4 separate regions of the Homo sapiens genome follow, and all the other regions are linked to region 1. The links are contacts of gene promoters, found by promoter capture Hi-C in human tissues and cell types (Jung and others, 2019). All regions are on one chromosome and are shown on one strand. The core of a region is centred on a gene start or on the middle of the fragment in contact, and the rest is flanking DNA. Distances in the headings are between cores, read along the strand shown.

Region 1 (2,927 bases), core at 162-2,661:
TTTTTTTGAGACGGAGTCTTGCTCTGTCGCCCAGGCTGGAGTGCAATGGCACGATCTTGGCTCACCGCAACCTGTGCCACCCAGGTTCAAGCGATTCTCCTGCCTCAGCCTCCCGACTAGCTGGGATTACAGGCATGCGCCACCATGCAAGGCTAATTTTGTACTTTTAGTAGAGACGGGATTTCTCCATGTTAGTCAGGCTGGTCTTGAACTCCCGACCTCAGATGATCCACCCGCCTCGGCCTCCCAAAGTGCTAGGATTACAGGCGTGAGCCACTGTGCCCAGCGGACCTTATTATTTTTAATTATTATTATTATTTTTTGAGACGGAGTCTCGCTCTGTCGCCCAGGCTGGAGTGCAGTGGCGCCATCTCGGCTCACTGCAAGCTCCGCCTCCCGGGTTCACGCCATTCTCCTGCCTCAGCCTCCAGAGTAGCTGGGACTACAGGAGCCCGCCACCACGCCCGGCTAATTTTTTGTATTTTTAGTAGAGATGGGGTTTCACCGTGTTAGCCAGGATGGTGTCGGTCTCCTGACCTCGTGATCCACCCGCCTCGGCCTCCCAAAGTGCTGGGATTACAGGCGTGAGCCACCGCGCCCGGCCTAATTTTAATTTTCTTAGATGAAATACTAATATTGTGGTTTCAGTAGGATAATGTCCTTACCCTTAACAGACGCTTTACCAAGTATTTAAAGGTTAAGTATCATGTGTGCAGTTTAATTTCAACTTACTTACACTCAAATAATAATTCACCGTAAGGTTTATTTATTGGGGGAGAGAGAAAACATGGCCCAAAGCTAAAAAGGAGTAAAACGATTGCAGTGGATATTCCTTGTAGCAGATGTTCACATTTTTATTAGATTCAGATTTTCTAAAGCAAAACGTGAGAAAAAATACAGTTAGTCGAAACACACTGTTCACCGTGGATTCGATTACTCCAAGACCAGCGGGACAACGGCCGCATCCCTCCCGCCCCGAGGGCCGGGCCTGGAAGTCCCGGCGGCGAGGGACGCGCGCTCCCGCTGGCCCCCACGGGCTAACTTTCACAGGGAGCTGCACGCCCGGGGCGCTCAGGGGTCTACCTTACGCTTCGGTCCCAACACAATGTGCCAGAAACAAATAAAAAACGTCAAAGCCGAAGCCAGATTCTCACAGAAACACGCCCTGTTCAAAGTGAAGGAAGCAAAGGGCCCCTCTCTCACCAGCTCCGCGGAATGGAAGCGCTGCCCGGGTCTACCGCGAGCGGCGGCGACTTTCCCTTCTGGAAGCGGTGCCGGGGGCGCAAGGCGCGAGGCAGGCGGGCGGGCGCCCACTCCCGGACCAGCTTCCCCGCGGACAGCCCGAGGACACGCGCGGAACTCTCCGGCGCCAGCACGCACCGCCGCAAGAACCGGATCAGCTGTAAGACAGGCGGAGGCGGGGCCGGCGCCGGAAGAGGGGCCGGCGCGTCTTTGGCGTCACTTCCGCCTCCAGCCTCCGGGCCGAAGCTTTGGCCTATGGTGCGGGGAGGTAGTAGTTTCTTCCGCGAGGGTGCGGGAGGGCCCCGGGGCGCCCTTGGGAACCGGGCTGGAGGCAGAGACAGGCCCGGAGGACCAGGCGGACGTAAGGATCAGGCCTCTGGACGCAACTGCGGAGCCGGAACAGACCAGGAGGGCGCGGTTGGGCGGGTACAGCCAGGAAGTGCTCGTCGCGAGCGCGGCCCGCGGTTCGGTCACAGCGAGAAGCCCGCGGGTGCTGGGAGTGCTCGGTCTTCTCTCGATCTCTGCAGGGAGTCACTGGCCCCGTTCCTTTTTATCTGTCTGAACATCACGCCGAACTTTTAACAGTTGATTCCACTGCATTTTCAATGTGGTATTTTTTTTTTCTGTAAATGTTCATCTATTTTTCGCTTCAAATATGCGTTTCTGTTACTTTTCTAATGTACCGTAGGAGCCAAGACCACCTATACTACGTTGCAAAATAGCACTGATACCAGGGGTTCTCCCAAGGTTCATTCAGAAATGTCACATGATTCCAGTAACAATACGAAAAGGTTTTTTTTTTGGAACCAGGCATATTGATCCTGGAGTTCACATGGAGGAACAAATGTCTCATAACGCAGACGACGCGGACAAACAAAAGCGCAATGCCCGACAGATGCGAAAACAGCCTCTGTCATTAAAACTGTGTGCTAGTGACACATGAACAGGAAACAAATGGAATATCCAGACATCAACCCAGTAACATGGAAATTTGGTTCATAAACATAATTTCAGAGCGGTGGAACAAACATGCAGTTTATAATGAAAGGTGCTAAGACAAATGGTTAGCCGTCTGAGAAATGATGAAATTAATTCTGGATCTCACAGGGATAAACTCCAAACGGATCAGGAGTCTAAATGTGAAAAACAAAACAAAACCACATGTGAAGTGTTCACGTGATTTCGTGGCTGATTAAGAAACAAGATGTGCCCAGGAGGTGGCGGTGGCGCACAAGCTTTGACAGGTTGGAGGGTGAGGGAGTCTCACGCACCATGAGATTACCCACAGGCTTCGAATTGGGGGTCACTACTCAGAAAAGAGAAAAAAATGAGCGTGGGCGGGGGGCGCGCAGAGAACTCCCAGAGAAGAAGGAGATCAGACAGGGGGAGGGCTGACGTGACTAGATCACGTTTCTCAGCAGCCTGACAGGTGTCTGAGTCACAAAGCTCTGAAGGGCAGCAACGGCTTGCAGTCTTTAGAGCCCCAGGATTTATCTTATCTATGGCTAGCAGAGATTGGACACAATTTCACGAAGTATACAAAGCAACCACATGCTAAATGGTTCAACACTATGAGTGTTTGGGATGTGTTTTATTTATTATTTATTAATTTTGATACGGAGTCTCCCTCTGTCGTCCAGGCTGGAGTGCAGTGGCACGATCTTGGCTCACTGCAACCTCCGCCT
Region 2 (2,927 bases), core at 291-2,790, 360 kb before region 1:
AGGACGAGAATGACACGCTGAGTCGGGGGCGAGATCAGATTCACACCCTGGGCTGGGCAGCCCTAAAGTGCAGGCCGCTCCCCAGCACCAGCTGAGTGGGGAGGGGGCGTAGGGTACAGGGGGGCCCTCCCTCCTGGCTGGGGTACCATGGGCTCACCAGCCTCTCCCATCCCATGCAGTTCCCTGGTCCAACTGCCCCGTAAGGACAAGACCCAGCTGGGCCAGTAGGCTACTCATTTCAGAATCCTGAAAAATCCTGCACCTCAAACCAAGGGCAAACATGGGCCACCCGTACAGCTCACGCTCTGAGGGTGCGGGCACGAGGCCTCCGTGGGGATGGTGGGCTCGGGATGTGAAGGGTGGGCTCAGGCTGTGAGGGGCGGGCACGGGGCCTCCGGGGGCAGCCGGAACCCTGGGGACAGGCGGTGAGGGCGGGGCAGGCCCTTCACCCTCAAGGTGGATGACCGGAGACGCCACCGGGTGACCGCGTCCCTTCCACCGCCCGAGCAGCCGCCCGGGCCCGCGCTGGAGCCTGGAGAGACCCCTGCGCCGGGGAAAAGCGCTGGCGCCCCGCGCGGACTGGGGTTCGAGTTCCGGCTCCTCCGCCCGCTGCGGCTTCGCGCCATGCGTTTCTCGCCCTTTCGAGGTGAAGCCACGCGTTTCACGCGAGATGGTGACCGAGGAAGCGCCCGTCTGGCGCCGGCCCCGTGCCCCTTCGGACCCCAACCGCGATCACAGCGGGTTCGCTTGAGACCCACGTTGGAGCGGGAGCCCCGGACGCCTGGAGGTCCGCACCCCAGCGCGCGCTCCCTCGCCGGCCTGCTCCCGCCCAGCCTCCCGCCCCCCGTCGGCCGGCGCCCCTCACCCCTCAATCTCCTTGCGCCTCTTGGTCGAGCCCCCTGCCCGCGCCTCATGCCTGGGCGCTTCACTCTGGCCCGGGGCCCCCTCCCCGAACCCTGGGCCGCACCCCTCACTGCGGGGCACCCCCCTCTCTCCTCCGAACCCCGCTCGCCGCCACCTCCTCCAGCCCAGCCTCTCCCCACAGCTCTGGACACCCCACCCCCAGACCTGGTAACCCCCAACCCTGACCCCGAGCTGAGCCCCAGCTCCGGGGGGCCCCGCCTTGCGCCCCACTGGCCTCAGCGCGCCCGCTCTGGTCTCCGCATCCCCAGCTCGGCGCCAGCCCCGGCCCGGTGGCCTCTCGGCCTCCCACGCCCCGGCCCTACCTGCACCCACTGGCCCTGCGCCTGCTGCAGCAACGCCACGCTGGGGTCGGACTTGGTGAGCGGGTCGCGGTCCAGCAGGTGCCGGCAGCTGAGCCGCAGCTCCACCTTCGAGGCGCAGGGCGCGGGCAAACCCCCGGGGGTTGCCGCCGCCCCGCGCTCCGAGCCCGCGCTCATGCTCCCGGCGTTCGGGGGCCCGGCTGGGCGCACTGAGGGGCCGCTGCCCGCGAGTCGGCGCCGCCGCGGCGCCCGGGAAATGGTGGCCGGCCCAGGCGTGGCCGCGCTTCCCTGAACGCCTGCCGGGCGCGGGCGCACGTGGCTCGGGCGGCCGCCGCGCGGGGACTGCAGGGGGTGGGGCGCGGCCGGGGGGCGGGGCCGGGGAGGGGCGCGGCGGGAAATGAGGGCAGGGGGCAGAGGCAGGGGTGCCCCTCGGAGATGCCCGGGAGGAGACAGCTTCTAATTCCCCGGGGACCCCCCCCCCAACTGATAGCTTTGGGGTCAGGTCGGGCGCGCCCTCCCCGGCTGTGCGCATCCCCGGCCCAGGGACCGGCTCCGGGCTGGAGGCTCCGAGCTGCGCGGGGCCTGAGCCCGGGTTCGGACCCAGGCAGACACTAGGGGAGGCAAAAGGGGGACCCCAGCTTGGCACCAGATCCCCGCGCCCTTCCCGGATCTCTAGGATCCCATTTCCAGGCTCCGCTGGTTTCGGGTACTCGCCACCTCCATCAACAAGCATTTAGTGGGCGCCTGTTGTGTGCAGGCGCCGCGCTCGTCTGGGGCTGGAAGGACCGTCCCGGGGGGCCGAGGGCTGAATCGCGGTCTGATTCCGAGGGGTCCGCGGGGCACGGTCCACACCAGTCCCCCGAGGCCGGGGCGGGGCGGGGCAGGCCTGGGTTCCGTGGGGGGTGGGCCCGCTCCGCCCTGAACTCACTCCCCCACCTTCCCCATCACCGGTCCCGGGGGAGGGAGCAGCGGAAGAGGAGGCGTCGGCGGGGACAGAAACCACCTCGCAGTCCACTCTTTTTGCCGATTTCTGCCTAAAAATAGGGCACGGACCTCGCCAAAAGCCACGGGGGTGGGGGGCGAGGGTGAGGGAGACATTAAGACTGAAGAGGCGGGAAGACCGGGCGCCTCCGCTCAGCCTCGGCGATCAGGACTCTAGAAGAAGACCCTGCGGTCAGAGGGGACCGCCGCCGACAGGGCGAGGAGGCTCAGGGCCCCGCCGGCGGGAGGCAGCACAGGCAGCCTCGGCCTGGGAGGAGGAACGCGGCCAGCGGCGTCCCCTCGCGGTCGGACGGCGGGATGGCGCCGGGCGCGGCTGCAGGGCGGGGAGGCCCCACGGGGCTGGCAGGGCCGGGAGAGGCCATGGAGACCGGCTCCTGCCTTCCCGGGAGGTTGGCTAAAGAGGCGAGGAACAGGTCAGGGCGCAGCGAGGCCTGCAGGGCCCCATCTGCTGTCTCCCCGGCCTCTGCGCCTCCTCCCTGAAGCCCGCAGTGGGCAGAGGCCAGTCCCGCTCTCTAGGGACCAGTCTGGGCCTTCCCGGCCCTGTGTCCTCCTCAGCCCAGCCTTCCAGGCTGCCGGGAGGCCACATCCTCGGTCCCCAACCACTTCCATGGGAAAAGGATGCGAAATTCAGGCAAAGGGTGCGGGCGCCCAGGCAGCTCCTGCAGGCCGTGCCTCCCGCTCGGTTCCAGCAGCCCTGGGACA
Region 3 (2,927 bases), core at 228-2,727, 310 kb before region 1:
CATTTTGGGAGGCTGAGGCAGGCGCGTAGCTTGAGATCAGGAGTTTGAGACCAGCCTGGCCAACATGGAAAAACCCCGTCTCTACTAAAAATACAAAAATTAGCCGTGCATGGTGGTGGGCGCCTGTGATCCCTGCTACTCGGGAGGCTGAGGCAGGAGAATCACTTGAACTGGGGAGGTGGAGGTTGTAGTGAGCCGAGATTGTGCCACTGCACTCCAGCCTGAGTGACAAAGTGAGACTCTGTCTCGAAAAAAAAAATTAATTAAATAAAAAAATGTTTTGCAGAGACAGGGTCTCACTGTTGCCCAGGCTGATCTCCTACTCCTGGGCTCAGTCACTCCCCTGCCTCAGCGCCCCGAGGTGCCAGGACTACAGGCGTGACCCACTGTACCAGGCCTGCAGAGGGAACACATGTCAGCCCCTCGAGGTGCCAGGACTACAGGTGCGACCCACCGTACCAGGCCCGCGGAGGAAACGTGTAAGTGACGCACGTGATAGGCAGCTCATGCACTGCCACCAACTGGCTAAGGTGTTTATGTGGTTCTGGAAAAAGCACAGAGCTTTGCAAGGGATGAAGGGCCCAGGACGGCTAACGGCACAGTAGGCATGGGTCTTGGCAGCCTCTGCTTGGCTGAACCATGTGCACGAGGCTTGTGCTGCTGGTTGAACAGGCACCAGCACCTGCTTGGTGTCCCCATGGGACATGGTAGAGGTCACCGCCAACCCACGACACGTCATCGATGGAATTCCAGGTCCCGCAGGAGCCCTTCTGGGAGAGGAGGACGGCCGGCCTCTGCTCACACCTCCCTCCCGGCCCACGCTGCTTTCACCTTCAGATAATCCACAAACTCGCGGACTTCCAGTTTGGCTTCGTGCATTCCTGCCACGTCTTTGAAGCTGACTCCTTTCCCCATCTTCCCATCCACAATGGTGAAACGAGCCATTTTAAGCTGATTCTGTGCAGAAAGAACAAAGTGCAAGGAGCTGGGCGAAGTCAGGAAATCAGCAGCACGATGCCAGCGCTCAGCCCACGCACCTGAGCCGCCCCAACCCCACGTCTCCATCCTAGGATCCCAAGGCTTCACTCATGTCAGGCTGACGAGGCTCACAGTCAGTCTTCAAGCACAGAAGGGAAATGTTTCGTCATTAATTAGTAAGAAACTTATCTAGCAATTTGCTTTAAAAAAAATTACTCAGCCAGGCATGGTGGCTCACGCCTGTAATCCTAGCACTTTGGGAGGCCGAGATGGGCGGATCACGAGGTCAAGAGATCGAGACCACCCTGGCTAACACGGTGAAACCTGTCTCTACCAAAAATACAAAAAAATTAGCTGGGTGTGGTGGCAGGCACCTGTAGTCACAGCTACTTGGAAGGCTGAAGCAGGAGAATCGCTTGAACCCAGGAGGCAGAGGTTGCAGTGAGCTGAGATCGCACCACTGCACTCCAGCCTGGGCAACAGAGCCAGACTCTGTCACACACACACACACACAAAAAAGAAAGGCCAGGTGCAGTGGCTCATGCCTATAATCCCAGCACTTTGGGAGGCTGAGGCGGGAGGATCACCTGAGGTCGGGAGTTCGAGACCAGCCTGAACAACATGGAGAAACCCCGTCTCTACCAAAAATACAAAATTAGCTGGACGTGGTGGCGCGTGCCTGTAATCCCAGCTACTCGGGAAGCTGAGGCAGGAGAATTGCTTGAATGCGGGAGGTGCAAGTTGCGGTGAGCTGAGATCGCACGGCTGCACTCCAGCCTGGGCAAGAAGGGCGAAACTCCGTCTCAAAAAAAAAGAAAAGAAAAACGCAGATTCAACTGCCCTGTAATCTCACAAGGCTCAGGCACCCCAGAGTTAGGGGTGAGAGGCCCTCAGGCAACATTGGTTACTACACGCCTTACAGCCGGACCATGGGAAAGGAAGGTGAGCTGCTGTCTAATTGTGGCTTCAGGCTACTCTCTGCAACAGGTTTTCCCTGTGTATTCATCGTATAGCTTATGGGAAAAGTATTCAGCAAACACAAACCAGAAAGAGTTCAGAGAGCTCTGATTTACAGAACTTACAAAAGCACTGAATCCACCTTCCCTTCCAGTCATCCCGGCCAGACGGAAAACATACCACAGGATGGCCAGGCCCACTGCCGTCATCCCCACAGAGTACAGGGCACTGCCGGAAGAAAGAGAGGCAGGCACAGGCTCAGACGGTGTCACGTGACAGACGCAGGCTTCCAAATCAGAACCACTGCTGGCAATGTTTCCAAGATGAGACGAGGAATCCCTACGTCTGGGACCGATGCGCAGATTAAAATGGTTGTGGAAATGGGTTCTCTCGTCTCATTCTCGCTGACTGTGCTTTTTCATGAAAGCTTCCCAAATGGTCAGACTGAGTGTGCAGATGCCGGAGATCTAGCCAGCCTTGTGACAATAACAACGTTCAGGTTTTTCTATTTTCAGTATATTTTGTTTTCAAATGTAAGCGATCAGCTTCAATCAGGCAGGCAAGATCAGCCTAAGAGTAAAAAGCAAATCTCAGGCCGGGCGCGGTGGCTCACGCCTGTAATCCTAGCACTTTGGGAGGCCGTGGCGGGTGAATCACAAGGTCAGGAGTTTGAGACCAGCCTGGCCAACATGGTAAAACCCCATATCTACTAAAAAAATACAAAAATTAGCTGGACATGGTGGCATGCGTCTGCAATCCCAGCTACTTGGGAGGCTGAGGCAGGAGAAATGCTTGAACCTAGGAGGTGAAGGCTGCAGTGAGTCAAGATCGTGCCACTGAACTCCAGCCTGAGCTACAGAGCAAGACTCCATCTCAAAAAGAAAAGAAAAATGTAAGAATAAACCCTGTGTCTACTAAAAATACAAAAAAACTTAGCTGGATGTGGTGGTGTGCATCTGTAGTCCCAGCTACTCAGGAGGCTGAGGTGGGAG
Region 4 (2,927 bases), core at 271-2,770, 260 kb before region 1:
TGCTTGATTTTTCTTTGGCAAAGTCTTTAGATCTGATTCTGCTAAACTTGGGTTCTCACCAGATGACTGGCTTTTAAAAGAAGATGATGTTGAAACTGACTCTTGTAAAAAAGGACATTTAGTAGAAGCTAATGGTACGGTGAAGTTTTAGAGAGTTGAGGAGAAAATCTGTCTTAGAACTTAATCTGTGCCTTTTCCTTAATAGCTTTCTTCTAAGCCCATAAATATATTGGTTCAGGGGGATGAGTGAAGGCAAATGGAGGGTGTGGAAGGGAGACAGAGAACAGCTCTTGGGCGTTGGAGAAGTGCTGGGACTTGTGTCAGTGCTGCCCGTGTTGGTTTTCCAGCGCTGCTGTAACTAACCACCATAACCTTAGATTTATTGTTTTATAGTTCTGTTGATTAGAAGCCTAACATGATCTGCCTGGGCTAAAATCTGGGTAGGTAGGGCTGGTTCCTTCTGGAGGCTCCAGGGGAGAATCTGTGTTCTTGTCTTTTCCGTGTTCCAGAGGCTGCCTGCATTCGGCCTGTAGTGCTTTCCTCAGTCTTCAAAGCCAGCCTCATGGCATCTCTCTGACTCCTGCTGCCCACCCGCTTTTTTGGAGAGTCTCGGCTCTGTTGCCCAGGCTGGAGTGCAGTGGCACAATCAAGGCTCACTGCAGCGTCGACCTCCTGGGCTCAATCAATCCTCCCGCCTCAGCCCCCCAGCAGTGCTGGAATTACAGGCATGGAGCCACTGTGCCTGGCCCTTGTTTCACTTTTGGATCCTTGTGGTTACAAATTGGGCCCACCCGAGCACTGCGAGGTCATCTCCCTCTCTGCTGATTAGTAACCTCAGTTCCCTTTTCCACGTAACCTAAGGCATTCACAGGTTCCAGGGGTGAGCAAGCTGGAGGTTTTTCCAGTAATGTTCCCTTGCTGTCCTCAGATGCCATCCGGGATCCCACATTGCATTTAGTTGTCATGTCTCCTTAATCTCGTCTGCAACCATTTCTCAGCGTTTCCCTGTTTTTCATGACCTTGGCAGTTTTGATGAGGGCAGTCATCTTTTTTTATGTCTTTGTGACTGACCGTTCACACATTGGCATGTTTGTAAAGCACGGTGTGGCTGACGTGTGGCTCACCTGACTGCTTTTCCAAATGGGGTGCAGTGTGCTCTACAGTGGGAGAACAGCTTTGTGTCTTCTTTTAGCTGGAAGGAGCTACATGTTTTATAGAAGGGACTTCTGAAACTAGACAAACTCTGCTTTTTCTGATGTTTCACTGATTTCCTTCACAGATGTTCATTGGCTGCTCACTGGGTGCAGTGCTGTGGCCTCCTGTTCTGAGATCTGGGAGAAAGATGCATTTAGTTGACTAAAGCTTGCATTAAATATTGGTTCTTATGAAAAGAGAGATCATAGATCAGAGGAGGGAAAGGCTCTGTGACCTGGGAGATTTAAGGGAAGAAGTGCTATTTTTTTTTTTTTTAACTGTAAGCTATGTTTCTGTTTTAAAAAAAGAATCAGTAGAATGTCACTGCAGAAATCAGAGTAAGGGCATCTTCGACTTCGGGAAGGCTGGGGACAAAGGCTGGGAAGGCCGCATGTAACGTGAGAATGTCAGCCAGACGTGTCTGAACACGAAAGCCCATCCAAGAAGATGGAAGATGACAGCAGATTAACCTGGAAGCATGACTGGAGTTGGGTTGTGTAGGGTTTGCAATGATAGACCTGAATTTCATTTGCTTACTTGTTTTGAGGCAGAAGATGATGTGTCAGAGTTTGCAGGCGGTGGATGCCTAGATGAAAGCACTGGCTTTGCAACACCATGGTGCCTAAATGGTTCTTTTTTTGAGACAAGGTCTTGCTCTGTCACTCAGGGTGGAGTGCAGTGGCGTGACCATATCTCACTGCATCCTTGAGCTTCTGGGCTCAAGTGAGCCTCCTGCGTCAACGTCATGAGTGGCTAGAACTACAGACGTGCGCTAATTTTTAAAAATTCTTTGTAGAAATGGGGTTTCGCTATGTTTCTTAGGCTGATGTTGAACTCCTGGCCTCAAGTAGTCCTCCTGCCTCAGCCTCCCAAAGTGCTGGGATGACAGGCACAAGACATCACATGCAGCCTTAAGAAGATCCCTACAAGAGAACCTGGAGAAACTTGAAATAGGGAAGGGGACTCGAAAGCACACTGTGTAGGTGAATTGTGAAGACTTCATGGTGTTAACTGGTATTCATTAAAAAGACTTGGAAAAAGAGAAGATGAATTGATTCCCAGTGGAGGGAATGGGGCAAACATTAGTTAGGAGAGTGGCTTTGTGAAACGATAGAGCAAAGGAGACAGAAAAGAAAGCAGGAATGGGGAACGGGGTGGTGGGGCAGAAGCTGGGTGCTGTTTATTTTGTGCCTACTGTGTGTCACTCTCCATTCTCTGCCCTGGGGACATTTGACAGATGTGGACGTCACTGGTGTGATTTGCCCACATTCTGGAGGGAGAAGTGGGCATCTCAGTTGAGGAAAGGAAATGGCTATCTGGGGAATTCTTGAGGGGCACAGCCCAGGACGGAGCCTTGTGTTAGATGGGTACCTGCTGGCTCTGCTCAGCTCGGCAGATGTGTTGCCTAAATGACTTTAATGGCCAAGGCAGACTGGTATTTGCCCTCAGATATTTTGTCAGGACAGTGTAAAATGTGGGCCAAGATAGTGGTTTTGGGTCCAAACAGAAGGGGGTTAGAGATTTTGGAGGTTGAAGCCTGCTGCTAGAAGGAGTATAGAAAGAAGAACGGGGATTCTGTTTGCCCAAATACATGGTTAGGCTCATCTTGGACTTGTTTTTGTTTTATATCTTCTGTTACTTCTATGCACATATTAATAGATACCTAATTAATATTTGGTTGGAAATCTTAAAAGTTAGGATTTTTTTTTTCTTTTTTTTTGAGATGGAGTCTC

Evidence for each region. The method cuts DNA at HindIII sites, captures the fragments that hold promoters and counts their contacts. A contact is called where the count stands out against the background at its distance.
Region 2: a contact is called between the fragment with the promoter of CPNE7 here and the fragment with the promoter of ZNF778 in region 1, in 2 of the 25 tissues and cell types used here (dorsolateral prefrontal cortex and lymphoblastoid cells).
Region 3: a contact is called between a fragment that was not itself captured here and the fragment with the promoter of ZNF778 in region 1, in 6 of the 25 tissues and cell types used here (IMR-90 fibroblasts, dorsolateral prefrontal cortex, hippocampus and 3 more).
Region 4: a fragment that was not itself captured here is called in contact with the fragment with the promoter of ZNF778 in region 1 in 6 of the 25 tissues and cell types used here (adrenal gland, bladder, dorsolateral prefrontal cortex and 3 more).

The regions. Positions count from the first base shown.
Region 1 is chr16:89,216,187-89,219,113 of GRCh38, reverse strand. ZNF778 (zinc finger protein 778) reads right to left here and starts at 1,411. Exons shown (of 7, transcript NM_001201407.2): 1 at 1,204-1,411. ZNF778-DT (ZNF778 divergent transcript) reads left to right here and starts at 1,461. Exons shown (of 1, transcript NR_186410.1): 1 at 1,461-2,927. RefSeq lists enhancers at 1-524, 525-1,055, 1,580-1,629, 2,579-2,873. The HindIII fragment of the contact is 6,098 bases long and covers 1-1,983 here.
Region 2 is chr16:89,574,371-89,577,297 of GRCh38, reverse strand. It overlaps CPNE7 (copine 7), which reads right to left and starts at 1,540. Exons shown (of 15, transcript NM_153636.3): 1 at 1,227-1,540. The coding sequence starts at 1,400. RefSeq lists silencers at 2,077-2,146, 2,387-2,616. The HindIII fragment of the contact is 23,727 bases long and covers 1-2,927 here.
Region 3 is chr16:89,528,713-89,531,639 of GRCh38, reverse strand. SPG7 (SPG7 matrix AAA peptidase subunit, paraplegin) reads right to left here. Exons shown (of 17, transcript NM_003119.4): 6 at 2,061-2,163; 7 at 832-957. Among named protein-coding and RNA genes, the nearest start is that of SPG7, 22 kb to the right of the region's middle. The HindIII fragment of the contact is 6,586 bases long and covers 1-2,927 here.
Region 4 is chr16:89,480,464-89,483,390 of GRCh38, reverse strand. All of the region lies in intron 1 of ANKRD11 (ankyrin repeat domain containing 11), which reads left to right. Among named protein-coding and RNA genes, the nearest start is that of ANKRD11, 8.6 kb to the left of the region's middle. The HindIII fragment of the contact is 7,186 bases long and covers 1-2,927 here.